7 separate regions of the Homo sapiens genome follow, and regions 1, 3, 4, 5, 6 and 7 are each linked to region 2. Evidence: promoter capture Hi-C in 16 types of primary human blood cells and fetal thymus (Javierre and others, 2016). All regions are on one chromosome and are shown on one strand. The core of a region is centred on a gene start or on the middle of the fragment in contact, and the rest is flanking DNA. Distances in the headings are between cores, read along the strand shown.

Region 1 (3,665 bases), core at 1,097-3,596, 580 kb after region 2:
TAAAGTGGACTTAAATATCGTCTCCTTTTTCATTTTATAAATGAGGAAACTCAGGCCTGAGTTAATCCCAGCACTTTGGAAGGCTGAAGCAGGTGGATCACATGAGGTCAGGAGTGCGAGACCAGCCTGGCCAACATGGTGAAAACCCGTCTCTACTAAAAACACAAAAATTAGCTGGGCGTAGTGGCAGGTGCCTGTAATCCCAGCTACTTGGGAGGCTGAGGCAGGAGAATGGCTTAAGCCCGGGAGGCGGAGGTTGCAGTGAGCCGAGATCGCACCACTGCACTCCAGCCTGGGTGACAGAGTGAGACTCTGTCTCAAAAAAAAAAAAACACACACACACACACGCTGACACACACACACGCAGACACACACACAAACTGAGATGTTTTGTTATTCTTGAGTTTTAAGAGTTCTTTATATATTAAGATTACAAGTCTTCTTCAAATATGTGATTTGTCAATATTCCAGTCTATGGCTTGTTTTTTTCATTCTATTTAACAATGTCTTAGGCCGGGCACGGTGGCTCATGCCTGTAAACCCAGCACTTTGGGAGGCCGAGGCGGGCAGATCACAAGGTCAGGAGATCGAGACCATCCTGGCTAACATGATGAAACTCTGTCTCTAGTAAAAATACAAAATATTAGCTGGGCATGGTGGCGGGCGCCTATAGTCCCAGCTACTCGGGAGGCTGAGGCAGGAGAATGGCGTGAATCCACGAGGTGGAGCTTGCGGTGAGCCAAGATTGCTCCACTGCACTCCAGCCTGGGCGACAGAGCGAGACTCCGTCTCAAAAAAAAAAAAAAAAAAAAGTCTTTTGAACATAAGTTCTTAACTTTGATAAAGTCAAAATTACAAACTTTTTTCTTTTATGGATCATAATTTTGGTGTTACATCAAATAAATCTTTGCCTAATCCAAAATCACAAAGATTTTTCTCCTTTGTTTTCTTCTAGAAGTTTTAAATTTTATATTTAAAACTTGAAAGCTTTAGATTTTACATTTAGATTTTACATTTAGATATAGGATACATTTTTTAGTTAATGTTTATGATGTGAGGTATGGATTGAGTTTTCTTTCCCACATGGATATTGAATTGTACCAGCACAGTTTATTAAAAGATGTCTTTTTTTCTACTGAATCACCTTTAGAACTTTCTTGAAAATCAATTGACCACATATGTGTGGGTCTATTTCTGGATACTCATCTTGAATTCAGATATTGAGTCTTCCAATTCTGTTTTTGTTTTCAAAGCTGTTTTGGCTTTCTAGGTCTTTTAAGTGTCAGCATGAATCTAAAATTCATTCGCTTATGAATTTCTACAAAAAATCCTGCTGTGATTTTGATTGGGATTTTCATCTGCAAATAACAAGTATTATTACTTCTTTTCAAATCTGGAGGCCTTTTATCCTTTTTGTTTTTTTTACCTTATTGCACTGGCTAACATCTCCATTAAATGTTGAAAAGAAATGGTGAGAGTGGACATCCTTACCTTGTTTCTAATCTTTGCATGAAACCATTCAGTTTTTCACCATTAAGTATGGTGTCAACTGTAGGTTCTTCATAGATGCCTTTTATCATATTAAGGGAATTAGTCTTCTATTTCTAGATTGTTGGGGTGTGTGTGTGTGTGTGTGTGTGTGTGTGTGTGTGTGTGTCTGTTGAAGATATATACAACATAATGGGAGGAAGTGGAGCAAGATGGTTGAATAGAAGCCTCTACCAATCAGCCCCTCTGCACACTAAATTTAACAATTATCCACATAAAAAGCACCATAAAAACCAAAAATCAGGTCAGCAGTCACAGTACCTGGTTTTAACTTCATATCACTGAAAGAGGCACTGAAGAGGGTAAGAAAAACAGTCTTGAATTGCAGATGCCACTGCTTCCATATCCCCCAGCAGTAGGTTATATAGCGCAGAGAGAGAATCTGTGCATTTTGGGGAGTAAGAGCGCAGTGATTTTGGGACTTTGCATTGGTACTCAGTACAGCCCTATCACAGTGGAAAACAACACTGGGCAGAACTCAGCTGGCACCCAACAAGGGAGCATCTAGACCAGCCTTAGCCAGAGGGGAATCACCCATTCCAGTGGTTGGAACCTGAGTTTCAGCAAGCCTCACCAACACAAGCTAAAGTGCTCTGGGGTCCTAAATAAACTTGAAAAGCAGTCTAGGCCACAAGGACTGCAATTCCTGGGCAAGTCCTGGTGCTGTGCTGGGCTGGGAGCCAGTGGATGTGGGGGGCATACGACCCAGTGAGACACCAGCTGGGGCAATCAAGGGAGTGTTTGTGCCACCCCTCCCCCAACTCCAGTTAGCACAGCTCAAGCCCCAGGAAATACTCCTTCCCTTCACTTGAGACAGGAAAGAGTCTTAAACAAATTTACATTCCCATCAGCAGTGTCCATTCTTTATTTTGTAACAGTTAAGTTTTATAGGTGTCTTGGGGTGATGATAAAAAGTAAAGCTAAATCAGTTTCTAAATATATATTTGTTATAAATGGATAGAAAAAAATGCATCTTGAACATGGAATTGTTAAACCACCTCTGAGTAGTGTATATCAGAACTTGCTCATTAGGTTGGCAGCAAAAGGACAGAAAGAAGTTTAAAGGGAGAGATGTATGTAGATGTGTTTATATTTACATATTGATGATAGCCATTTATGTGTGTGCATCTCTTTTGGTTCTACTATAGTAACACACTCAGTAATCCAATGGAAACATGCTTTTTCACTAATATTCTTTTTTTTTTTTTTTTGGTGAGACAGAGTCTCGCTCTGTCACCCAGGCTGGAGTGCAGTGGTGCAATCTCGGCTCACTGCAACCTCTGCCTCCCAGGTTCAAGCGATTCTCGTGCCTCAGCCTCCTGAGTAGCTGGGATTACAGGCGCCCGCCACCACGCCCGGCTAGTTTTTGTGTTTTTAGTAGAGACAGGGTTTCACCATGTTGCCCAGGCTGGTCTCAAACTCCAGGGCTCAAGCAATCCACCCGCTTCGGTCTCCTAAAATGCTGGGATTACAGGCATGAGCCACAGTGCCCGGCCTTTCACTAATATTCTAATAATATAGTTCTGATAATGAATTCTCTTAGAAACATACTAGTGTACTCTTGCTTTATGTCTCATTTTAAATAGAGCATTAAGGGAATGCAGTAATTTTTATTAACTTTGCCGATACCTTTATCTAGACGCCTATTGCCATTTTGGGCTTCTGTGAAATTTTTGTCCCCAAGAAAGGCAGGATTATATATTTTTTAATATAGATTGAGTTGGTGTAGTATATTCTCAGTTATCAAAATACTTGAGATTTTGAATTGGTAAATATTCATAATGTGTGAAAAGGCATGATACATACTGCATGATCTCAACCACATAAAATTGGATGTTGTATATAGACAACACAGGACCTAGAAGGACACATCCAACTGTAAGATGCTTGTTATTGTGGATTATTTTGTTCTTTGATTCTTGTGTTTTTCAATTCCCCGTAATGCACATTTGAAATTTAAAAAAAAAGTTATTTTTAAAACATGTATGAAGTCCCCATTGCTCATAGAATAAAATTAGCATATTCCATAGGGGAAAAAAAGAATTAAAATGTCATAATCTGAAATTTTCTTTGTGGAAAAGTTTTTAAACTTCAGTTAAATTTATTTAATAGATATA
Region 2 (4,012 bases), core at 1,106-3,605:
AGATAAAGAAGATAGGCAAAGAATATGGCAAACCTGGTAAGCCCACGTAAAAACACTTCTTTTTTTTTTGGCCTATGGTAGATTTGTTGATAGACCAGCTCAATCTTCTCATATTATAACTATGTACTGACAATTTTAGTATCTTACGTTTGTTTCTTGACCTTAGATTGTATATGAGTTGGTTTTCTCCTTTTTTTTTTTCTTTACTTGAAAGGGCCATGCTTGCAAGTGAGTATTAGACATTGCATGATTTTCTAATATTCTCTCCAGTTTTCTACACCTACCTCTGTCATCTTAATTTCTATTTTCATGCATTTGCTCAAATTAAAGATGTGGAGATTAAATGAATGAATACATGTAAAGCACGTAGATTAGTATCCAGCAGATATTAAGTGGCCAATACTATTATGATTGATGCTGTTGTTCTTTGATGCTTTGATCTCCACAACCTACATCCAATTGGTTCACTTTCCTTCTACACGATTTGTCTCCTCCTCAAATCTAACCTTTCTCTTCTGTTCATCTTCTTACATAGTCTCACTGCTACTTGGCCCTACTAAAATTTATTTTTGCTTCTTACCACATTTGCCACAAATGTTGATATAAACCATTTCCATTCTTCTGAGATGTATCACCTACTTACAGAGGTTATTATCTACCCAAAATCTTCTCTTCTTCACTCCACTTGAACATACTTGCATTCACATTCTCCTCTCTGTTTCAGATATCAACTCTTTCCTCCTGGCTCAAAGGAAGGTGCATTCTTTTCTGACTACACCCACATCTCTGTTTATTATCCAGTTCAGTTAGCATTAGGCTCGGCTGCAAATAGAAAAATCCTTAATTAACAGTGGCTTTTAACAAGGTGTTTCCATCAGGTGAAAAATCTAGAAGGCGGCTCTTGAGGGCTCATAGGGCAGCTCCACAAGTTGATTTTTCCATCTCACTGCTATGCCATCTCTAAAGCATGCCTTCATCCTTATGGCACAAACTTGCCGCCTGAAAACCAGCGAACCCAACTTTCCAGGAAGTAAAATGCACTTTAAAAGATCAGGAGGGCTGGGCGAGGTCGTTTAGGCCTATAATCCCAGCACTGTAATCCCAGCACTTTGAGAGGCCGAGGCGGGTGAATCACCTGAAGGCAGGAGTTCAAGACCAGCCTGCCCAACATGGTGAAACCCCGTCTCTACTAAAAATACAAAAAAAAAATTAGCCAGGAATGGTGGCGGGCGCCTGTAATCTCAGCTACTCAGGAGGCTGAAGCAGGAGAATCGCTTGAACCCGGGAGGCGGAGGTTGCAGTGACCCAAGATTGCGCCATTGCACTCCACCCTGGGCGACAGAGCAAGACTCCGTCTCCAAAAAAAAAAGTCAGGGACGGCCTCCTCTCTTTTAGATGCCGTCCCTAAAGACATGCACACAATTTATACCTAATTGGCTAAAACGTAGTCACATAGCCACATTTGGCTGCAAGAGAGACTATAAAATAAGCTATTTTAAGCTGGGAAGCAGTGTGTCCATCGACACAGTGTTCTGTGACTTTAAATAAAAAATTGGTTTTCTGTCATGAAGTAGAGACTAGGTTTGGTGAGGCACTCATTCATCCTTTCTCACCTCCAACAATAATTTGCGTTTACTTATTTTTTCAACCCCTTCCCATCCCCTCAAACATAGTTCTCTACCTTTTATCTCAAAAGATAACCAAAGAAACCTCTTGATTCTGGTCATACTCTTCCTTTCACTGTGACAATAACAACAACAACAACAACAACAAAACCTTATTCTTCTCCTTTACAATTTCTTTAACGTTTTTTTCTTTTCTGCTATTCCCAATCCCTAAACACCATCTCACGTTTAGATTATACAGCTTTCCACTTCGTCTCCCAGTTCCTGCGAGCACCTTATATCCCTTTTACCCCAACCAAGTCCTTAAATTTTATTTATAGTTAGCGTCACAATACACGAGTAAATATTGTCTTTCTTTAAAAAGCACAAATATCTCAAACTTCTCCCTTGGACATACCAATGGCTACATTAAGCTCTTTAGAACGTAGAAATGAAAGAACGCCTCCCGGGTTCAAACGATTCTACTAAACAAATGAAAGAACGAATGGCATGTAAGTGCGTTTTTACAATTCATGTGAACGGGTACGCTAAGACCCTCTGTCACTGCGGGCTTCGCCGCCCCGATGAAGGTCTTTCCCAGCAAAAATCTGGCTTGCCTTCTACAGCTCTGAAATGCACACTTAAACCCAGGCCCTTTGTCTCTGACCGCCCTGGCCTGAACTGGCTGGGCGGAGATTCTCGCGAATTCTCGGATCTGCGCGGAAAACGCGCTCGAGGCAGTTCTCTGACGCATTTCCGGAGCGCCAGGGAAGAGGGAAGTCGTGGTGGTCGCGAGGGAGCCGGAAAGATGGTGGTTACCAGATCTGCACGGGCTAAGGCCAGCATCCAAGCCGCGTCGGCTGAAAGTTCCGGGCAAAAGGTAGGAAATCCAGTCTTCCCTACTTCTCGCCGCTTCGCAGAGCCGCGCTCAGGCAGGCGGGGCGGCGCAAGGGTCCGGTTAAGGGTGAGGACCTGCCGACAGAGAGGACCCGAGCTTGCCGCGCGCTTGGGTCTCCCAGGCCCCGTGCTAAGCCTGTCACGGAAACTGTTTAGCCTTCACCACTGTCTCTTAAGGCAATTTTTAGTATGGAAGAGAGGTTAGATAACTTTATTTGGGTCGTTCAACTCCTTAATGCAGAAGCACAGTTCGAACTTTTAAACCTTACTGTTAACACGGTACCAAGGAGGGTTAATTTCGGCCACCATGCACAAGCCCCATTTAGGGGGGCTGGAAAAAAAGCTTCGTTTTCACGTGGGGAGGCTGGCAGCTGTCCAGCATCACCTCCTTAAGGCGTGAGGAGGGCTGTGGTGTCGTCGCCTGGTGACTCTTAGTGGCGTTAGTCGGCTGTCTCATTCTGACTCAGCGATGCAGGGAACGGAGCGGCGGCGATTTTTTCCTGTACGTAAAGGTAAGGGCGGCGACTGATTCCATCAGTGTGTTCCTAAACACATCGGTGTTCAGAGTTAATATTCCCTTTCTCCCCTCTTCTATAGGTGGGTCAGAATGTTGGTCTACCCATTATATTTGACTTTAAACAGAAAAATTTTAATCGTTCTGCTTCTGAAGTTACATCTAGGAAGGATGAGGCTAGTGAAGTAAATGCAGGGTTGGCTCCAGTGTTTAAATTTTGATTTTTTTGTTTGTTTGTTTTTGATTCGGAGTCTTGCTCTGTCGCCCAGGCTAGAGTGCAGTGGCGCAGCCTCGGCTCACTGCAACTTCTGCCTCCCGGATTCCAACAATTCTTCTGCCTCAGGCTCCTGAGTAGTTGGGATTACAGGTGCGCACCAACACGCCCCGCTAATTTTTTTACTTTGAGTAGAGATGGGGTTTCACTATGTTGGCCAAGCTGTCTCGAACTCCTGACCTCGTGATCCACCTGCCTCGGCCTCCCAGAGTGCTGGGATTACAGCCGTAAGCCACCGCGCCCGGCCAAATTTTGATTTTTTAAAAATCATGAGTTGGGCAGGTTTTTTTGTTTTTTGTTTTAAAGGTAATCTTGTTTACTGGGTTTTAGCTTTTGGGGTCAGTATTTCATTTGCTTTGCCCTTGTTCCAGCCCTACCTAAATTACAGTGTGTTTTCTCTGGTTTGCAGAGTTTTGCTGCTAATGGGATTCAAGCGCATCCAGAAAGTAGTACTGGATCTGATGCCCGAACTACTGCTGAATCACAGACCACTGGGAAGCAAAGTTTAATCCCTAGAACTCCTAAAGCTAGAAAGAGGAAGAGCAGAACTACAGGCTCACTACCAAAGGGGACTGAACCATCTACGGATGGAGAAACCTCTGAGGCAGAGTCAAATTATTCTGTGTCTGAGCACCATGATACCATTTTAAGGGTAACTAGGAGAAGGCAGATCTTAATTGCATGCTCCCCAGTGTCCAGTGTTAGGAAAAAGCCGAAAGTAAC
Region 3 (3,523 bases), core at 369-2,868, 830 kb after region 2:
CAATACGTAACTTCTCAGGATCTTCTCTCTTCAACTTTAGACAGGTTTTGATTAAATTAGTCAACAGAAAACTTTAAATATATTGAAATTTAGAAGTACATAAAAACTTGTAAATAAGCAACATTAGTTATGTTTAAAATAATCCTTTTGTCCAGGCACTGTGGCTTAGACTTGTAATCCCAGTACTTTGGGAAGCTGAGGTCAGTGGATCACTTAAGGCCAGGAATTCAAGACCAGCCTGGCCAACATGGTGAAACCCCAACTCTACTAAAAATACAAAAATTAGCTGGTTGTGATGGCGCACACCTGTAATCCCAGCTACTTGGGAGGCTAGGGCATGAGAATCACTTGAACCCGGGAGGTGGAGGTTGCAGTGAGCCAAGGTCTCGACACTGCACTCTAGCCTGGGTGACAGAGCAAGACTCTGTCTCAAAAATAAATAAATAAATACATAATAATAATCCTTTTATCCTTTTGTATAATCCATGTGCTATCCCCTGCTTTTTTTTCTTTTTTTCAAGCTTGTGGGAAGTGGTATGATTATGGACAGGCTATCAAACTTCTAAAAATGAGTTTTCAAACAACCTTTGTAGCTGGAATTAGATAGTTTGGTACCGATCATGCCTTGGCTACTATTAAAATTTCTAAAAGGGGCCAGCCTCAGTGGTTCACACCTGTAAGCCCAGCACTTTGAGTGGCCAAAGCAGGCAGATCATTTGACGTCAGGCGTTCAAGAACAGCCTGGCCAACATGGTGAAACCTTGTCTTTACCAAAAATATTAAATAACTTTTAAAATTGCAAAAACCACAGTTACTTTTGCATCAACCTATACAAAAACTAGCCAGGCATGGTGACACGTGCCTGTAGTCCCAGCTACTTGGGAGGCTGAGGCAGGAGAATCTCTCGAACGCAGGAGGTGGAAGTTGCAGTGAGCCAAGATCACGCCACTGCACTCCATCCTGGGCAACAGAGTGAGACCCTGTCTCAAATAATAATAATAATTGTTATCATCATCATCATCTAAAATGTTATAATCCCTAAAGATCTCCACATCTGATTCTCATATTTTGTAAGTTGCATCTGCACTGCCAGTAAGGTTTTGCTTTCAAATTGTTTAGTTTTGTTTTTGAGTCTTCAGACTTTAAAAAAATTAAACAAGTTATACTACACTGTGTTTGAAAAGAAAAAGAATATAAATGAAAAGGGAAGCCATAAATATCAGTCAACAGACATAGTTGAGAAATTTGGGGAACTCTAGGTCTATACAACTTTCCTAGATTGAACCCTGTAGTCTCAATTGATTTCAATGAGAATTTTTTGTCAAGTGAGGGATGATAATTTTTATATAGATCTCATTCTTACTTTTCCAAGTTTTCACTTTAATTCTGTAGTGGACTCAGTGTGGGTAATAGGCATATTAGATTCCACAAAATTGTGAAAGTTATTGGTCTGGATTTTATTTTAGAGTGCCAACTGTTGTGGTATTCACTTCTGTTTGAATCAACTATAGCGTATAATGTCAAAACAATACATTGGAACCAATAGCTCCCAGGGTAAAAATTATCCGTGTACAGATGGTGGGCAAGAGTGATTACTTAAATTCTAGATATATAAATACCATAAGTACATATTCAGAGTTATGAATGGAGTAAGGATTCCCACAGTATTAATCTAACTTCAACAAGCCACGCAAATAGAGTGAAACACAATCTGTTCTATACATTTTGCACACTCTCAATTGCTGTAACATGAGAAATGGTATTTTAAGGGTAGAAACCCTCAACTGCTTTGAGACCACAAAAGTCCATCAGTTTACAGCTGGAGGCTTCTATCTATTCAGAATGTTTGGTACTCTTACAAACAGTAGCCCCACCGTTAAAATTAATAGATTTTGTATCCTAGGGGGCAAAGTTCTTTAAAGTCATGACATGACTTTTGCTTTGGCCTTGATTTTCCTTTTATTTCTAAGGAGTTTCTGTAAAAGGATTCCTTTGTTAACATATACCATTTTCGTTATAATATAACATTAGTTTTTCCTCTGTATTTTCACAAAAGCAAAAAAAAAATTGTACAAGCCAATACTTATCCCTAAAATATATTTTTCTGATTACAAAGTATTGATGTTATTTCTGAAAAAATATAAAAAGTATAAAACAAAAAATAAAAATTACTCATAATACACATAGAGAATAACATTTTGGTGTCCATATTCCCATATAAAACACAGTCATATGTTGCTTAACGACAGGGTACAGTCTGAAAAAAGCATTGTTTGGTGATTTTGTCCTTGTGTGAACATCATAGAGTGCACTTACACAAACCTACATGGTAGAGCCTACTACACACTTAGGCTATATGGTATAGCCTATTGCTATACCATAGCACCATATAGGACTATGAATTGTCCTATAACTAAATATGGTACTAAGAACATAGAAGACAATAAATGCTTCAATTTATGATAATTAGGCATTGAGCAAAACTCTGATTTTCTATACCAGTTCTTCACAAGATGCCTATTAAATTGAGTTGAAACATTGATGGGATTGGTGTCTGCAAGAAATATTCTGGAAATACTAAATTTTATAATTTAATGTTAATAGGCTTTTAGTGTTGAGAGTAATGTATTTCTTGCTAAGTCATCAATAAACATCTAATTTAAAATACAATAAAAATAATTTATAAAATAGGTCATTACACTTATACAAGCTTGTTGAACAAAGGCTAGTAATATAATTTTTTAAGTACCATGAAAAGAGATCATACTGGTTCTGTGTGGTGGCTCATACTTGTAATCCCAGCACTTCGGGAGGCCGAGATGGGAAGATTGCTTGAGCTCAGGAGTTCAAGATCGGCCTGGGCAACATAGCAAGACCCCATCTTTAAAAAAATACAAAAAAATAGCTAGGCATGCTGGCACGCACCTGTAGTCCCAGCTACCTGTGGGGCTGAGGTGAGAGGATCGCTTGAACCCTGGAGGCGGAGGCTGCAGTGAGCCATGTTTGAGCCACTGCACTCCAGCCTGGATGACAAAGCAAGAACCTGTCTCAGAAAAAAAAAAGAGAGAGAGACAGTTTGTATCAAGTAGTCCAGAAGAAATAAAGCTGGAGACTAAAGTTTCAGTAGTGCTTTCTAGAACTTTTCAAGACAAGGTTATCTGTATAACTGAATTTGAGTATTTCACCAGGCATGAGAGCCAATCTCATGTGAAACACCGAATAGTCCCAAAGAACGTGAAAGGAATATCGTAATGAGGCAGAATAGGGTCTGGAGGCAAGGAACCTAAGGCTGATTCACCCTGACTTCCTAGAACTAAATCGAAAGAAAAACCCCAACTTTCTGCACCTACGTAACAAAAGGACCAGAAGCTACTCCCTTTGCAAACCCCAACCTTTTCTACACAGCAGATGGGAAACTGAAACTACCTCTGAGTGGTTACTTTTTGCAACCAATCAGACCTTTCCATAGGAATATAACATTGTAACTTCACTTCAGTGATTATGATTATGAGCCAAGGCTACA
Region 4 (3,731 bases), core at 356-2,855, 540 kb before region 2:
TGATGATAGCATTTTTTTAAGTTTCTGAGACTTGCTTTACCTGTACATATAGGGGGTATAAGTGGTCCAGCTCCTAAAGAGCTCATAAATATACTAAAGACAACATTTACATTTGTAGCAAAAAGAATGTGTTATTTAAAACAATAGTAACCACAGCCCCCAAAAAATGAGAATCTCATTTGTTGTTGTAGAGTCAAACAAATATGAGTGTCTACTATATATTCCAGCCACAGTTCTAGCCACTGGGGCTATAACTGTGAATAAAATAGACAAAAATTCTTGCCTTTGTGGAACTTAAATGCTAGCAGTATGTATATACTGCAAACATATACAACAGACAAGATAAATATGTAAAATATATAGCATATTTTATAGTGATAAGTGCTAAGGAGAAAAGTAAAGTCTGGAAGGTAGACAGGATGCTATTTTGAGTGGCAGGGGCCAGGCACAGTGGCTCTTGCCTGTAATCCCAGCACTTTGGGAGTCTGAGGTGGGAGAATCGCTTGAGCCTAGGAGTTCGAGACCAGCCTGGGCAACATAACGTGACCTTGTCTCTACAAAAAATATTAGCCAGGTGTGGTGACGTGTGGCTGTAGTCCTAGCTACTTGGGAGGCTGAGGTAGGAGGACTGTTTGAGCCTGGGTGGCAAAGGTTGCAATGATCCAAGATGGTGCCATTACACTCCAGCATGGGTGAGAGAGTGAGACCCCGTCTCAAAATAAATAAATAAATAAAAATAAATCGAATGGCAATAGAAGGTCTCACTAAAAGGATGTCTGAAAAAAGACTGAAAGAGTGGGGAGAGTAAGCAATGTGAGTATCTGAGGAAAGAGCACTTCAGGCAGGGGAAACAGCAAGAGCAAAAGCCTTGAAATAGAATGCCTACCCAAGGATGTGAATGTGCCAGTAACTGGGACATATAATTAATTAAACAACCTGTACTCAGTTCCCCCTAGCAGACCACAGACAGCTACACAGTTCTCAGAACACTGCTCTGGGCCTGATCTGCCTCAGTTGGGTTCAGTACACAGCTACTTTGGCTGGCAAATTCTTCAATGCTTTTTTTTCCATCCAAGGTTGCTTAAGCATCTCTTTTTTATTTTGAGGATCCAAACGGGGCCATATAACATCTACTCATGGGTAACTGTAAGGGTCTCAAGCCGCTCTAGCCCCTCACATGATTCATGCTTGCACTTTGCAAAACACCCAGTGCGCCTGTGAAACTGAGAAAAGTGAAGCCAGCCCCTTCTAGAGCTTGATTTGAATGGGGCAGATTTAAGGAAGGAAAGCTGAATTTTGAAGTTTGCAGGAAAGTTGTAGAGGGGTTAGCAGTAACGTAGTGCAGGGAGTAAGAAGCTGGAGATATAAGGACACCCAATGGGTAAAGAAAGGCCCAGCAGCAGGCAACAGGGCTGAGACTCAGGACAAAAAAAAAAGTCAAGAAATTTCCAGCAGTGGGAATGTCCAAAAAACTTCTAAATAAAAGCATTTTAAGCTGTTCACTATGCTGGGATATAATCCCTACCACTCCTCCCAAATTTTCAATAAAGCCCTACTATAAATATCTGCTTTGTGATTGATTCTTTAGAGAAATCAAGGCAGACGCCAAAGAGACAGGCTCAAGAGACAAGATGTAAGTACCTTCTAAAATAGAGCAGAAAGTGCTCCAAAGGAAGCGAAGTAAGATGTCACTAAAAGAAACACAAGCTCCCTGAAATTCCTGAGAAATATTTAGGAGAGGAAACTGTGTTCCCACCATTTACAGAGGGGGGCTTTTAAAAGCAGGAAACTCACCCCATAAGCAGGTGGACTTTGGTAGACCTAGCTAGATTATAACCAGTCAAGCAATGAATAGATAAAACAATAAAGGTATTTAAATGCATGCTTCAGAAATTTTAAAAGAGGTGATCATCATTTAGATCATCTGGAGTAGTTAAATAACACTTCATGGATAGGGTGACCCTGACCTAACCCTTCAAGGATGACAAGAGTTGGAGAACAGGGATATCATAGAAAGATATTCTAGGTATGAGTAACAGCATGAATAAAGCTCCAAAGCCAAAAATGAGTGTGGCCTGTTCAAAGAACAGTGTAGAAACTGTCCTATTTGGAACAGAGAGTACCCATTGGCAGGCAATGGCATATAAGATTAGCCAGGTAAAGTAAGACCAGATTGAGGGAGGCTCTGAAATCCAAGATGAGAAATCCGAACTCTATTTGACAAGCATTGATAAGAAGCGAAAGAAACTGCTTTGTTCTGTTCTGTTTTTTAAAGATAATAAAATACTATGGCTATACAGACTGGTACCATTCCCTGCCTTCTAAAATTGGCCCACTGATTTCCCACTACCCAGGTCAGGTTATATATGCTCAGGTACACAACTATTACTTCTGCAAAAAGAATGTTTCTATTCATGTTTGTACTAGGCATCTCCAAATGCCTGTCAATTACGCTTAAAAGTTCTTCAACTATCCTATGTCATTTATCCTCTCTATAAACACTGTCTAACCCATGACAGAGCCGAACTAGGGAATTAAAGATGACTCAGTTCATGCCCTCAAGAAACTCAGGATCTGATGTAGGCAAAAGCCAAGAAAACAAACTAGTACAATACAGAATGGTAAGTGCTAGAGTAGGGGATACCTAGAGCAGTAGTCTCCAACCTTTTTGGCACCAGGGACCAGTTTTGCGGAACACGATTTTTCCACAAATTGGGGTTGAGTTGGGGGATGGTTTCAGGATGAAACTGTTTTGCCTCACATCATCAGGCATTAGATTCTCATAAGAAGTGTGCAACCTAGATCCCTCACATGTGCAGTTTACAACAGGTTCACGCTCCTATGAGAATCTAATGCCCCTGCTGATCTGACAGGAGGCGGAGCTCAAGTGGTAATGCTCGCTTGCACAGGCTGTGCAGCTGGGTCCTAACAGGCCACCAACCTGTACCAGTCCACAGCCCGGGGGTTGGGGACCCCTGGCCTACAGTATCATAAAAGCAGAGGACACTTACATCAGTTTGGAAATCAGAAAAAGACAGAAAACACCTAAGACAAAGTGTTGACTGAGTCTTGAAGAAAAAGAAGTATCAGCTGGGCAAGTTGGCTCATGCCTGTAATCCCAGCACTTATGGTTGGATGAGTGGGAAAAGTAGGGAAGGACCACACCATGAATACAGAAAGTTTGTATTTTAGAGTAGATTAATGATTTTAATGAAGGAATATTATGATCATATCTGAGCTTCTTAAAAAGAGCTCTGGTGGCAGTGGAAGATGGATTGAAAGGGCACCACAAAGTTTCTTTCTAACATAAATGCAACAAAAATCTGATAAAGGATGCTGTAACAGTCACTTTATTCCAGTTATCCACTCCTACCCCCTTTCTAGGCTTAACACACATCCTTCATGAAGCCTTCCCCAACCCTTCCCAAACACATTAATCTTGTCTTTCTCAAAACTTCTAAGACATGTCTATCTGTACATTTCATTCTGCTATCAGTGTTTAAGTTTCTTTTCCCTAACAAGAAGGTAAGCTCCCTGAGAAAACAAGTCATATATTTTTGTAATACACACACACACACACACACACACACACATCTTATAGCTCCCAGTACAGTAATATAACATTCTGAAATAGACACTTCCTTTAAATAGCCCTCTTTATCCATGAGTAAAAAGATTCTTCTTTTCCCCATAAATAATAAAATAAAAGGTAAGATTAGGCAAACTAAGGT
Region 5 (3,789 bases), core at 851-3,350, 560 kb after region 2:
GCCACAGAGACCAGTGAGAAGTGATGATGGCATTGACCTAGATTGGAAGAGTAGAGATGGAAAGAAGTGGTTAGGTTCAGAATATATTTTGGAAGTTGGAGCTAATGGAACCTATTGATGAATTGGAAGTAGATACTGATGGATTGAATGTGCTGTGTGAGGAAAAGAGAAGAGACAAATAGGGCTCCTAGGTATTTGTCCTGAGCAACTGAGTGTATAATTGTGTAATTTACTAGGACCGGAAAGGCTCAGGGGAAGCAGACTTGGGGTGTGATAGAAATCCGATAGCTTGGTTTTGGCCATGTTAAATTTGAGATGCTTATTAGACATCCAAGTTATATGCTGAGTAGATAGTTGGATATACAAGTTCTGGAGCTCAGGCAAGGAGCTTGGGTCTAGAGATATACACTTGAAAGGTATCAGTATATAAAGTTCTTTGAAGCAATGAGTCTAGACGAGATCACCTAGGGAGACAATATAGAAGGGGTATCCAATCTTTTGGCTTCCCTGGGCCATGTTGGAAGAAGAATTGTCTTGGGCCACACGTAAAATACACTAACACTAACAATAGCTGATGAGCTACACACACACACACACACACACACACACACACACAAAATATCTCATAATGTTTTAAGAACGTTTACGAATTTATAAATGTATAGCATTCCCTACTCTGGGATAGAACACACACACACACACACACACACACACACACACACACACACACACACACACACAATATCTCATAATGTTTTAAGAAAGTTTACGAATTTGTAAATGCATAGCATTCCCTACACTTGGATAGAAAGAGAGGAGCCGAGGACCAGAGTTCTGCATACTCCAACATTTAGCAGTATTCTGTCTTCATGTCCAAGGCAAATCTTTTATTATATTCTCTGATCTTATCCAATTCACCTCTTCTATAGCAGATTAAAAATGACTGTAAATTCTTTGACACTTCTACCAAGAGGTGGGGTGTAATTCCCTTTCCCTTGAATCTGGGCTGAGTCAGTAAGGCCAGTCAGTGACTTGACCAACGGAATTAATCAGAAGTGACATTCTGGGATCCGAGAGATGAGGTAATAAGAAGACTTATACCAATAGTTTCTGCCCAGGATATTTGGAATATCCTCTCTGAAAGCTTGAACCATCATGTAAGAAGGCCAGTCACCCTAAGAGTACCCTGGAAAGACCATCTGTAGGTGCTCTTATTGACATTCTTAGCTGAGCCCAACCTTCCAGTCACTCCTGCCAAGATATCAGACATGTGAATGAAGCAATCTTGGAATTTTGAGACTAACCCATCTACCAGCAAACCTGGCAAGTAACCACATAGGATATCGTGGGGCAGAGAAATTGCCCAGCTGAGCCCTGCCGAAATCTCTGGCCCCTCAAATCATGATATATAATAAAATGGGTAAATTTGGGATAATTTATTATATAGCAATAGAAAACTGAAAACACCTTCCCTCTTTGTCTGGGACCTTATTTTATAATCAATTCTCATCCCTTCTGGTTCATGCTACCTTCTCAACCACACATTATTTTATTACCAACTTTTCCTTCCTTCCTGGTTCTTTTTCCTCCACCTGCAAGCATGCTCAGTCTTTTCTACCTTGTTAAAAACTTTCTTAAACCTACTGCAAAATCTTTTTCCTTTAACGCACCCCTAAATTGATCTCACTGAGTTTACCAATATCTAATTGACAAAACCATCAGATATTTTTCTGTCCTTATATTTAACTGTATTCGGTTTCAGAAGTTCTCATCATGATACTTTAAGGATGAGGACAGCTGATGTGGCTGGCCTGAAAAATAAGGTAAGAACCAGAACTAATCTGCACAGTCAGGGATTTCAGTTTTTTTAGGCCTGAGTTTCTTTAGCTGAGACATGAGAAGCACCTCAAAATCAGAGCTCCTGAAGACAAGGTGGATACAGAGTGAATGAACCAAGTAGAACAGAGCTGGATAGGTGAGAGGAAAATAGCATGAGAAATTCCTTGATCTAGAATTTTGGTCCAGCATTTGAGGAACAGCAGGATCAAACTTCTGAAAATAGAGTAATAGACTGTCAAAAAGAAGGGTAGGCTTAGATTAGTGTGGAGAACAGTCAGGAGAAAGCCCTTAACCAGGTTCTTAAACTTTATTTTCCTTATGAATCAATTGGAAAAGTTTTGTTAAAGATACTGATTATCCTGCCTTGCCCAAGAAATTCTGGGGTTGGATTGACAATTTTTCTTTCAAATAAACACCCCAGGTCATTCTGATACAGGTGGTCTTCAGGCCAGACTTTCAGAAACAGCATCCTAAAGAAAGAGGAAGGGCTTGGGTGGGCATTCTGGAATGGGACCATTTGGTTATTTCTTCTTTACCTAATTGGTTAACTCATTAGTTTGCTCATGATTCCACAATCTAGGCTGGGCTCAGCTGGAACACTGGGAGGCTGAACTGAGTTTCTCTCTTTCTCCATGTAGTTTCAGGGCTTCTTCCTCTTTACATGACCTCCATATGTAGCACTTTCCATGTGGTCTCTGCAGCAGAGTAGCCAAACTTCCTACATGTGGCTCGGAGCTTCAAATAGCACAAAAACGGAAGCTGCCAGGCTTCCTTAAAGTTGAGGCCTGGAATTGGCACTGTGTCACTTTTGCTACATGCCACTTGTTGAAGCAAGTCACAGGCCTAGCCCATATTTAAGGAAAAGCACCATACAAATGTGGGAACACTGTGAGATGTGGTTCACTAAGGGGCCATAATTTAATGGGTTAGCAGAGAAAATACCAGAATAAAATAAGATAAAGCTGGCTTTGTTGGGAGTAGAGATGTATAAGGTTAATATATATAATAAGCACAACCACAAAAGCATGCTCAGTTTTTAAAGATGAACCACAAATTAAGCTCTGAGTTTCCTAATAGCCAGGAAAATCAGTTAGGGTTAAATAAATTAATAAAGAATTAACAATTATTTATTATGGGTAGTTTGCAAATCTTTTTTCCCATTCCGTGGGCGATCACTTCACATTATTATTTGTCTCCTTTGCTGTGCAGAAGCTTTTTAGCTTGATGTAATCTCAGTTGACAACTTTGCTTTGGTTCCCTATGCTTTTGAGGCCACAAAAATCTTCCCAGACCAATATCTTGGAGCATTTCCTCAATGTTTTATTTTCGTAGTTTCACAGTTTCAGGTTTTACATTTAAGTATTTAATCCATTTTGATTTTATTTTTGTATATGGTAAGAGATAGGGGTCTAGTTTCATTCTTCTGCATATGGTTATCAAGTTTTCCCAGCACCATTTATTAGAGACTGTCCTTTCCCCATTGTATGTTCTTGGTGCCTTTGTGGAAGAAGTTTGGCTGTAAATGTGTGGATTTATATTTTGGCTCTTTTTTTTTTTTTTTTTTTTTTTTTTTTGAGATGGAGTCTCGCTCTGTCTCCCAGGCTGGGATGCAGTGGTGCGATCTCGGCTCACTGCAACCTCCACCTGCCGGGTTCCAGCTATTCTCCCACCTCAGCCTCTTGAGTAGCTAGGACTACAGGTGTGGGCAACCATGCCCAGCTAATTTTTTGTATTTTTAGTAGAGACAGGGTTTCACCATGTTGGCCAGGCTGATCTCAAACTCCTGACCTCAAGTGATCCACCAGCCTCAGCCTCCCAAATTGCTGGGATTACAGGTGTGAGCCACTGTGCCCAGCCCTTGGCTCTCTATTCTGTTCCATTGGTCTATGTGTCTGTTTTTATGTTAGTACTATGCTGTTTTGGTCACTATAACTTTGTAGTATATTTTGT
Region 6 (4,128 bases), core at 185-2,684, 510 kb after region 2:
GGCTGGAGTGCAGTGTCGCGATCTCAACTCACTGCAACCTCCGCCTTCTGGGTTCAAGAAATCCCCTGCCTCAGCCTCCCAAGTAGCTGGGACTACAGGTGCACACCACCAAGCCTGGCTAATTTTTTGTATTTTAGCACAGATGAGGTTTCACTATGTTGGCCGGGATGGTCTCTATCTCCTGACCTCGTGATCCACCCGCCTCGGCCTCCCAAAGTGCTGGGATTACAGGCGTAAGCCACCACACCCGGCCTGTAATTTCATTATAACATTGATGAAAAACAATTATTTACAACCAGGGCCACTGTCTGTGTGAATTTTGCATGTCCTCCACATATCTGCATGAGTTTTCTCTGGGTATTCTGGTTTCTTCTCAATTCCCAAAGATGCACGTTAGGTGAATTGGTACAGCTAAATGGTCCCAGTATGCGTGTGTGTGCCGTGTGAGTGCGCCCTGTGATGAAAAGGCATCCTGTCCAGGGTTGGCTCCCACTTTGCTCCCTGAGCTGCTGGGATAGGCTCCAGCTACCCAAGACACTGAACTGAAATAAGCAGGTTGAAAAACGAATGAATACAAATTACTGTAAAACGAAAATTTGTAAAGTATATAATAATCATACAAATGCACAATAAATGATGCAGTATGAAAGCACTCAGCAAGCCCACTTTATTTCTTATTTTTTGTTTTTGAACTGCATGGTGGTAGGAGGTGCTCCTTAAAATTTTCACTTCCCAACAGTTATTCCTTGATTTAACCCACTAGCACTACAACTGCTGTCACTCACTGATTCGCCAAATATTGGGTAAATAATTTTTACTTTTTTTTTTTTTTTTTGAGACAGGGTCTCATTCTGTCACCCAGGCTGGAATGCAGTGGTACCATCACGGCTCACCGCAGCACCGACTGTGGGATTGTTTAATGCAGGGTTTATCAATAACAACCCCATAAACATTTGGGGCTGGATAATATATATATTTTTTTTGAGATAGGATTTTGCTCTGTTGCCCAGACTGGAGTGCAGTAGCGTGATCATGGCTCACTGCAGCCTCGACCTCCCAGGCTCAAGGGATCCTCCCACATCAGGCTCCCGAGTAGCTGGGACTACAGGTGCAAGCCACCACCTCTGGCTAATTTTTGAATTTTTCTGTAGAGACGGGTTTCACCATATTACCCAGGCTGGTTCCGAACTCCTGAGGTCAAGCCATCTGCCCACCTCGACTTCCCAGTGTTGAGATTACAGGCGTAAGCCACCATGTCCAGCCAATTCTTACTTGTTTTTATCCTTTTTAAATGTATATAAAGCTCATATTAATCTCAATGTTTAATTTTAGAAGTGTTTTGGGTCTTTATTAGAAATTTGGTAGTGTTTTTGTAACCAGAAATATATGCCATAGGGACTTAACTCTTATTTATATCAGTTCACCTATGGTAAAATTGATTTCATTATATGTTGTTTTTCTTAAACTCGCAGTTTCCCAGAACCTATCAACAACATTGAGGACTTATTGTATTATAAATTATCTTTATATGAATATAAAGACTTTCCCTATTTCAATTGCGAATATACAGATCTGTGCACTCAAAAATAACAAGCCTATTAGGACTCAAACAGTTATTTGTATACCCACGTTCACAGAAGCATTATTCACAATAGCCAAAAAGCAGAAGCAACCCAGTGTCCATTAATGGATGAACTGATAAACAAAATACGGTATTTACATACTACGGCATATTTGGCCTTTAAGAGGAAAGAAATTCTAATACATGCTACAACATGAATGAACTTTGAAGACATTATGGTAAATGAAATAAGAATGAATCCATTTAGATATCCAGAGTAGTCAATTCATAGAGACTGAATGCTGGTTACCAGAGGCTGAGGAGAGAGGAGGTAATGGGTGGTTATTGTTTAATGAATACATAATTTCAGTTTGGGAAGATGAAGAGTTCTGTAGACGGATGGTGGTGGTGGTTGCACAATAGTATGAATATACTTAATGCCACAGAATTGAACACTTAAAACTGGTTAAAGTGGTGAATTTTACGATATGCATATTTAATCACAATAAAAAATGCTTATTAAAAGATGTACTAGTTATGAAATAGCATACCTCATCTGTTTCAAACTGGGTGTGGCTAACAATGAGGTAGAAAAGCAGCAAGCAGGTACAGAGATTTATAATGGCTGCTCTAGGTCCTATCGGGTAAAGGGATCAGCAGATGTGAAGTCAAGAGTCTCCTGTAAGATTTGACTTTCTTGGAAACATATTTTAATCCTGGGCCTCCTCTTTCCAAATCACCTATTTCTTTTAGTCTTTTTGCAGTGATACTGTGTGTTGCTTCTAACAGAGGTTCAGTTTCACAGCCTTTCCCTCAAGTGTCTTATCCTAAAAGTAAAACCTAGATGATCTAAGGTGGTGGTTTTCAACAGGGTGCAATTTTGCCTCCTATACTCGCAACACCCAGGGACAGTTGGCTATGTCTGGAGACATTTTTGGGTTGTCACAACTGGAAGTAGGGTGGGGAGTGGTGCTAATGACATCAAGTGGGCATAAGCCAATTATGCTGCTAGAAATCCTACAATGCACAGGATAGGCTCCCACAAACAAAGACTTAACCAACCCCAAATACTAACAATGCTTGGTTTGAGAAACCCTGTTCTAAGGTTTTTCTAAGTTGCTTGATTTATGGTAGAAACTGATCATAAGTTAAAAGTTTCCTCCTTTTGGATTGCTTGAGCCCAGGAGTTTGAGGCTATGGTGCATTATGATTATGCCTGTGAATAGTCACTGTAATCTAGCCACTGCAATCTATATTAAGAAACATAGGCCGGGCGCAGTGGCTCACGCCTGTAATCCCAGCACTTTGGGAGGCCAAGGCGGGTGGATCACGAGGTCAGGAGATCGAGACCATCCTGGCTAACACGGTGAAACCCTGTCTCTACTAAAAAAAAACAAAAAAAATTAGCTGGGCGTGCTAGCGGGCACCTGTAGTCCCAGCTACTCAGGAGGCTGAGGCAGGAGAATGGCGTGAACCCGGGAGGCGGAGCTTGCAGTGAGCCGAGATCGCGCCACTGCATTCCAGCCTGGGTGACAGAGCAAGACTCTGTCTCAAAAAAAAAAAAAAAAAAAAGAAAGAAAAGAAAAGAAAAAAGAAAAAGGAAACATAGTGAGACCCTGTTTCTTTAAAAAAAAAAAAAAAGTTTCTTCCTCTTATTCCTTACTTTCTCTTCTCATTTATTTTGAGGAAATAGGATAAGAACCAGTGGTAATACTTTAGGTGAAAGGAGGCTACTTATGTTATCATTCTCTTCACCCTGGCCGATCCTAACCATGACACTTTATATCCTGGGGGATGGTGAAAAACAGAGGAGGTGGGGTAGGACTTGTGGTCAAATTGTTGGGGACAGAGGCAAAAAAGAAAACAGCAACAAAAAAATACAAATGAAGAAATTGGAAGGCAGTGCCTATGCCATCTGAATTGGATAATTCTTCCTAATGGCCATTTGGATATAGATGAGTTGGACAGACATAATTTAGAAACCTATATAAGGAAATATCATGCATTTTAATGAGGTTATAACCCAAAATTTAAAATTCAATTAAAAAATTAAATCACAGATTTTCCCACAACATACTAATTCAACATACTACTTACGATTACTTAAAATTTGCATTTTTTCTAAGGAGCAATAACCTAATGAGTATGTAATACTAATGTGTCAGTTAATAAGGGCAATTACTTTTGCTCTTATTTTCCTGTTATATGAAATTAACAACATACCTGCTGCAATATAACTCATTTGGTACAATTTAGGTGTTTCGAGAAATTCAACCCACTAAGATCATTAGCGTAATTCATTTTTATGCTACACATTAAAATGGTGCCTTCTTACAGTCACTTTGGAAAACTGTTTGACAGTAAATACTAAAACTGAAAATATACACACCCTACAACCTGGCAATTCCATTCTTAGGTTTATACTCAATGGAAATGTATACACTCACCAAAAGACATGTATAAGAATGTTCTACACAGTACTATTCATAATAGCTCAGAATTGAAAAATTCTCAAAAGACTATTAATGGGAGAATGAATAACTTTTGGATGTAATGAAAAATGGATA
Region 7 (3,608 bases), core at 3-2,502, 800 kb after region 2:
TTAGTGTTACATGGTTTCTATCTTTAACCAAAGTTAAATGTTTTAAAGAATAGAGTAACATTCCATAAGCCTTTTCCCATTGTTCACAAACCCTTGCTGTTAGTCAGATTACCCCGATAAATCCATCTGTTCCCTCTAATTGCTTCCAAAGAAAAATTCTAGCAACCAAGGACACCAGATTGTAAAACACAGAGTTAGAGTTCTGGCACTACCGAAATATGTTAAGAAATCTTGGCAAATTGGTTAAAATTCCTTGAGCCGTAATTACCTCAGTTGTAAAAATGAATACAATACAAATCTACATCCTAGACGTAGATTATATGAGTTAGGTTTAATTAAACACAAGAAAAGCCTCATATTTTTGGTGAGCTCCAAATATAAGCTACCTAGCTTTCCCCCATCTCACTTTCCCTCCCACCGCTTCCCTTTAAGCTTTCAGGTTGTGCTTCCAACCTCCACTTCAGTGTGTTCCCCTTATCCTTACCAGCACTTACACTCGACCCCCTTTACTCCAATTCCATACAATTCCACCCTCCGATTCCAAGCTGCTACTTCCCTTTGCGCACTGCTAAGGTCCCAGGCAGCCCTCCACTCTGCTCCCCACATTTCCCTCAGCCCCCATTTCCCAACGGCTCCTCCTCTCGGCTCCCCACCCCCTCGTCACCAGGTTCATCCTGCCCCTCCAACCGTCTCCCGCCCCCAGGTTCCTTCCTGCCCTCCAAACACAGCTTCCCCGTCTCAACGTTTCATCTTGTTCCTCCAACAGACTCCCCCAACGACCTCCTCGCTCCTTTAGTCCCTATTTTCTCCCAACACTCAACTGACTACTCCTCTTCATCCATTCTTTTCAATATACACATAAATGCAAAGGCACCCACATACAGGAGCCCCCACCCCCACCTTGGTCCTCCATCTTTCCCTTTTATACTTGCTTCCTTTCTTCCTCCTTCCCCCAACCCCCATCTCCTCCGGAAGAGTCGGTTCCCAGGCCAAGGTCTCTCACCTCATTCGGTCACTTCAGTGGTGCCAACCGCTTCATACAGGAAAAAACAACCAATCCGTCCCCGTGGGCGCTTCCCCTGCGAGTCCGAGCACTTACTGGGCACCCGCCCCACCGGGTACCCGGCACATATGCACGCACAAACCGAGGTCCTTGGAGACAAGGGTTGGGGGTAGAATGAGCGTTCTTACACCGGCCTCAAACACAGCCCACTTCAATACAGCCCCTCGCCATTTTGGTTTCCCGCGGACTGCCGGTGCATTCTGGGAGCGCGGAGCGACTCCGGTGCCGAATGGCAGCTCTCCAAAGCCGCGGGGGGGCAGGGACTGCGCGGCGAGCGCGGAGGAACACCGCGCCCTGCGTCCCCGACTGGGGCTGAACAAAGAAGGACTCTTTAACGTTGCAGTGAGGCTCAGTCCTTCCGCCGCCGGGGCTAACACAATAGTGAAAGCTGCGCTCCTGATCGTCGGCAGGCTGGCACTGTTATACAGGAAAAGGGTCGTGTGCGACCTTCGGTGTGCGTGGTCGTAACGGTGCTCTGTGCATCTTGCTGGGCCGATTTCTTTTCCCTGGAGAAAACCTTAACTGAAGCACGTTTCCTCTACTTTCATCCTAAGGCCTGCTGTTAGAATTTCCTTCAGAGGGGAGAAGACCCAGGATGTCGAGATTAAATTTTATTCAGCGATTCACTGTCCAGTCCCAAACTCCTTATCAGGAGCTGCTTTTATGAAAGACTTTCAGACGATTTTTTTCCTAACGATGAAAGGTTGTTTTCTGTTTACCCGCTTTGCAGTCCTTCCTAGTTGTAATGAAATCTGAGAATAGTCCCCTGCAAAATGGTTTAAGAAAACAGAATTGTTTATTAGTGCAGACCCTTAGCCTGCCCAGATTCTGCTGCCTACAGGGGTCCCAACTGACAAGCTGTGAGATTGTATGCTTGTCTCTTTAACTTACACCTAGATACAACCCAGCTCCTCTTAGTAGCCACGTGTGGAATCTTTATTTATAATTTCGTCAAAATATTTTTAAAGCCATTTTATATTTTTGTCCCATATTATGCCACAGGGATAGTGAACACCATATTTTTTCTGTCTCTGAAAAAGTACCTTTTGTGGTCTAAGCTCATTTGGCTCATACTTCAAAAGGGGTTCCCTCAGCCTGTGATCTCAGAATTTGGCAAATAAGCATATTCGTTTTATCCAATACCATTCAATACTTTAAATATTGTGGTCATACCCTTCCACTCCTCTGCTTCTCCTGAATAATAGTCCTAATCTTTTAAGTCTGTCTTCTTACTGTACCCTCACTGTATCTACTTACCTACTACCTTTCAGGTTTCACTTTATTTCAATTCTCATCATCGTCTCTCATAAATTCGTCTTAAGTGACCTTCATACGTTGGCTGAGGAAAATTTTGACTTAAAAAAAGCAGATGCAGCCGGGCGCGGTGGCTCACACCTGTAATTCCAGCACTTTGGGAGGCCGAGACAGGCAGATCACCTGAGGTCGGGAATTCGAGACCAACCTGATCAACTTGGAGAAACCCCGTCTCTACTAAAAATACAAAAATTAGCCAGGTGTGGTGGCACATGCCTGTAATCCCAGCTACTCGGGAGGCTGAGACAGGAGAATCGCTTGAACCCAGGAGGCAGAGGTTGTGGTGAGCCAAGATCGTGCCATTGCACTCCAGCCTAGGCAACAAGAGCAAAAACTCCATCTCAAAAAAAAAAAAAAAAAAGTAGATGCATTCCCATTCAGGAACGTGGCATTAAGGTAAATAAATAAATAAAATATTAAAAAGTAGATGCAGTACAAAAATTAATAAAGATATTGCACAAACAGATATATTTGCTGTGCAGCTAAGCCTAATCAGAGAACATCTGTTTTGGAGAACGTTTGGTCTAAGTTTTCCTCAACATTTCTGTAAAGTGGTCACCAAGCCTCAACTTCAAAATCTTCAGTGATTCAATACTTCAGACGCATTCATTTCCACCTCAGAAACTCTAATAATTTAGGCTCTTTGGCTACACAAAAGTATTCTAATCCCTTATACATTAGAGAAGTAAATTATGCCTCTATCAAAAAAAAGTGTTATTTTTCTGTGCAAACGTGTGAGTACAAAGGTGTAAGCAAACCAAGTGTTCAGAGATTTAAGGACACTCAGGGAGTCACAGTCAAGTATAAAGAATACCTGTCAGCCAGCCACCAGCAACTCACTCCTGTAATCCCAGTACTTTGAAAGGCCAAGGTAGAAGGATCACTTGAGCTGGGGAGTTCCAGACCAGTATGCAGTCTGAGCCACATAGTGAGACCCTGTCTCTACAAAAAATTTAAAAATTAGCTGGGCCCCTGCCTGTAGTCCCAGCTATTCAGGAGGCTGAGGTGGTAGGCTTACTTGAGCCACAGTGAGACTGCCTCAAAAAAAAAAAAAAAAAAAAAAAAAACCTGCTGTAGTTGTGGTTCCTCGGAAATATAGAGTGAACTCTGATCAGAGTAAACTGTACCCTTTATTGTTGTATGTATTTCTGTGATCATCCTTAGGGTGGTTCATAAGTATTCTGGTTCCCCTCTCTTCCAGACACATAGTAAAATTGCACTCTGGCCGGGC

Evidence for each region. Contacts are between HindIII fragments. The CHiCAGO score rates a contact against its expected background, and 5 or more counts as called.
Region 1: a fragment that was not itself captured here is called in contact with the fragment with the promoter of DNTTIP2 in region 2 in 4 of 17 cell types (M2 macrophages, M1 macrophages, endothelial precursors and 1 more); the score reaches 10.0 in M2 macrophages.
Region 3: a fragment that was not itself captured here is called in contact with the fragment with the promoter of DNTTIP2 in region 2 in 1 of 17 cell types (total CD8 T cells); the score reaches 8.2 in total CD8 T cells.
Region 4: a fragment that was not itself captured here is called in contact with the fragment with the promoter of DNTTIP2 in region 2 in 1 of 17 cell types (non-activated CD4 T cells); the score reaches 5.7 in non-activated CD4 T cells.
Region 5: a fragment that was not itself captured here is called in contact with the fragment with the promoter of DNTTIP2 in region 2 in 2 of 17 cell types (M0 macrophages and M2 macrophages); the score reaches 8.0 in M0 macrophages.
Region 6: a fragment that was not itself captured here is called in contact with the fragment with the promoter of DNTTIP2 in region 2 in 3 of 17 cell types (M1 macrophages, M2 macrophages and non-activated CD4 T cells); the score reaches 7.2 in M1 macrophages.
Region 7: a contact is called between the fragment with the promoter of MTF2 here and the fragment with the promoter of DNTTIP2 in region 2, in 4 of 17 cell types (non-activated CD4 T cells, total CD8 T cells, naive CD4 T cells and 1 more). The highest score is 6.3, in non-activated CD4 T cells.

The regions. Positions count from the first base shown.
Region 1 is chr1:93,295,360-93,299,024 of GRCh38, reverse strand. No RefSeq gene overlaps it. Among named protein-coding and RNA genes, the nearest start is that of CCDC18-AS1, 49 kb to the left of the region's middle. The HindIII fragment of the contact is 2,713 bases long and covers 990-3,665 here.
Region 2 is chr1:93,877,549-93,881,560 of GRCh38, reverse strand. It overlaps DNTTIP2 (deoxynucleotidyltransferase terminal interacting protein 2), which reads left to right and starts at 2,355. Exons shown (of 7, transcript NM_014597.5): 1 at 2,355-2,484; 2 at 3,699-4,012. The coding sequence starts at 2,413. RefSeq lists enhancers at 1,533-2,348, 2,200-2,629. The HindIII fragment of the contact is 5,310 bases long and covers 1-2,846 here.
Region 3 is chr1:93,042,477-93,045,999 of GRCh38, reverse strand. No RefSeq gene overlaps it. Among named protein-coding and RNA genes, the nearest start is that of MTF2, 35 kb to the left of the region's middle. RefSeq lists an enhancer at 3,248-3,507. The HindIII fragment of the contact is 2,189 bases long and covers 524-2,712 here.
Region 4 is chr1:94,421,425-94,425,155 of GRCh38, reverse strand. All of the region lies in intron 1 of ABCD3 (ATP binding cassette subfamily D member 3), which reads right to left. Among named protein-coding and RNA genes, the nearest start is that of ABCD3, 4.9 kb to the right of the region's middle. The HindIII fragment of the contact is 5,695 bases long and covers 1-3,731 here.
Region 5 is chr1:93,316,202-93,319,990 of GRCh38, reverse strand. The region is part of intron 8 of CCDC18-AS1 (CCDC18 antisense RNA 1); the gene reads left to right. Among named protein-coding and RNA genes, the nearest start is that of CCDC18-AS1, 28 kb to the left of the region's middle. The HindIII fragment of the contact is 1,907 bases long and covers 1,147-3,053 here.
Region 6 is chr1:93,363,857-93,367,984 of GRCh38, reverse strand. DR1 (down-regulator of transcription 1) reads right to left here. Exons shown (of 3, transcript NM_001938.3): 3 at 1-4,128. Among named protein-coding and RNA genes, the nearest start is that of DR1, 20 kb to the right of the region's middle. The HindIII fragment of the contact is 5,973 bases long and covers 1-4,128 here.
Region 7 is chr1:93,076,927-93,080,534 of GRCh38, reverse strand. It overlaps MTF2 (metal response element binding transcription factor 2), which reads right to left and starts at 1,252. Exons shown (of 15, transcript NM_007358.4): 1 at 1,004-1,252. The coding sequence starts at 1,008. RefSeq lists enhancers at 1,209-1,503, 1,440-1,689. The HindIII fragment of the contact is 3,598 bases long and covers 435-3,608 here.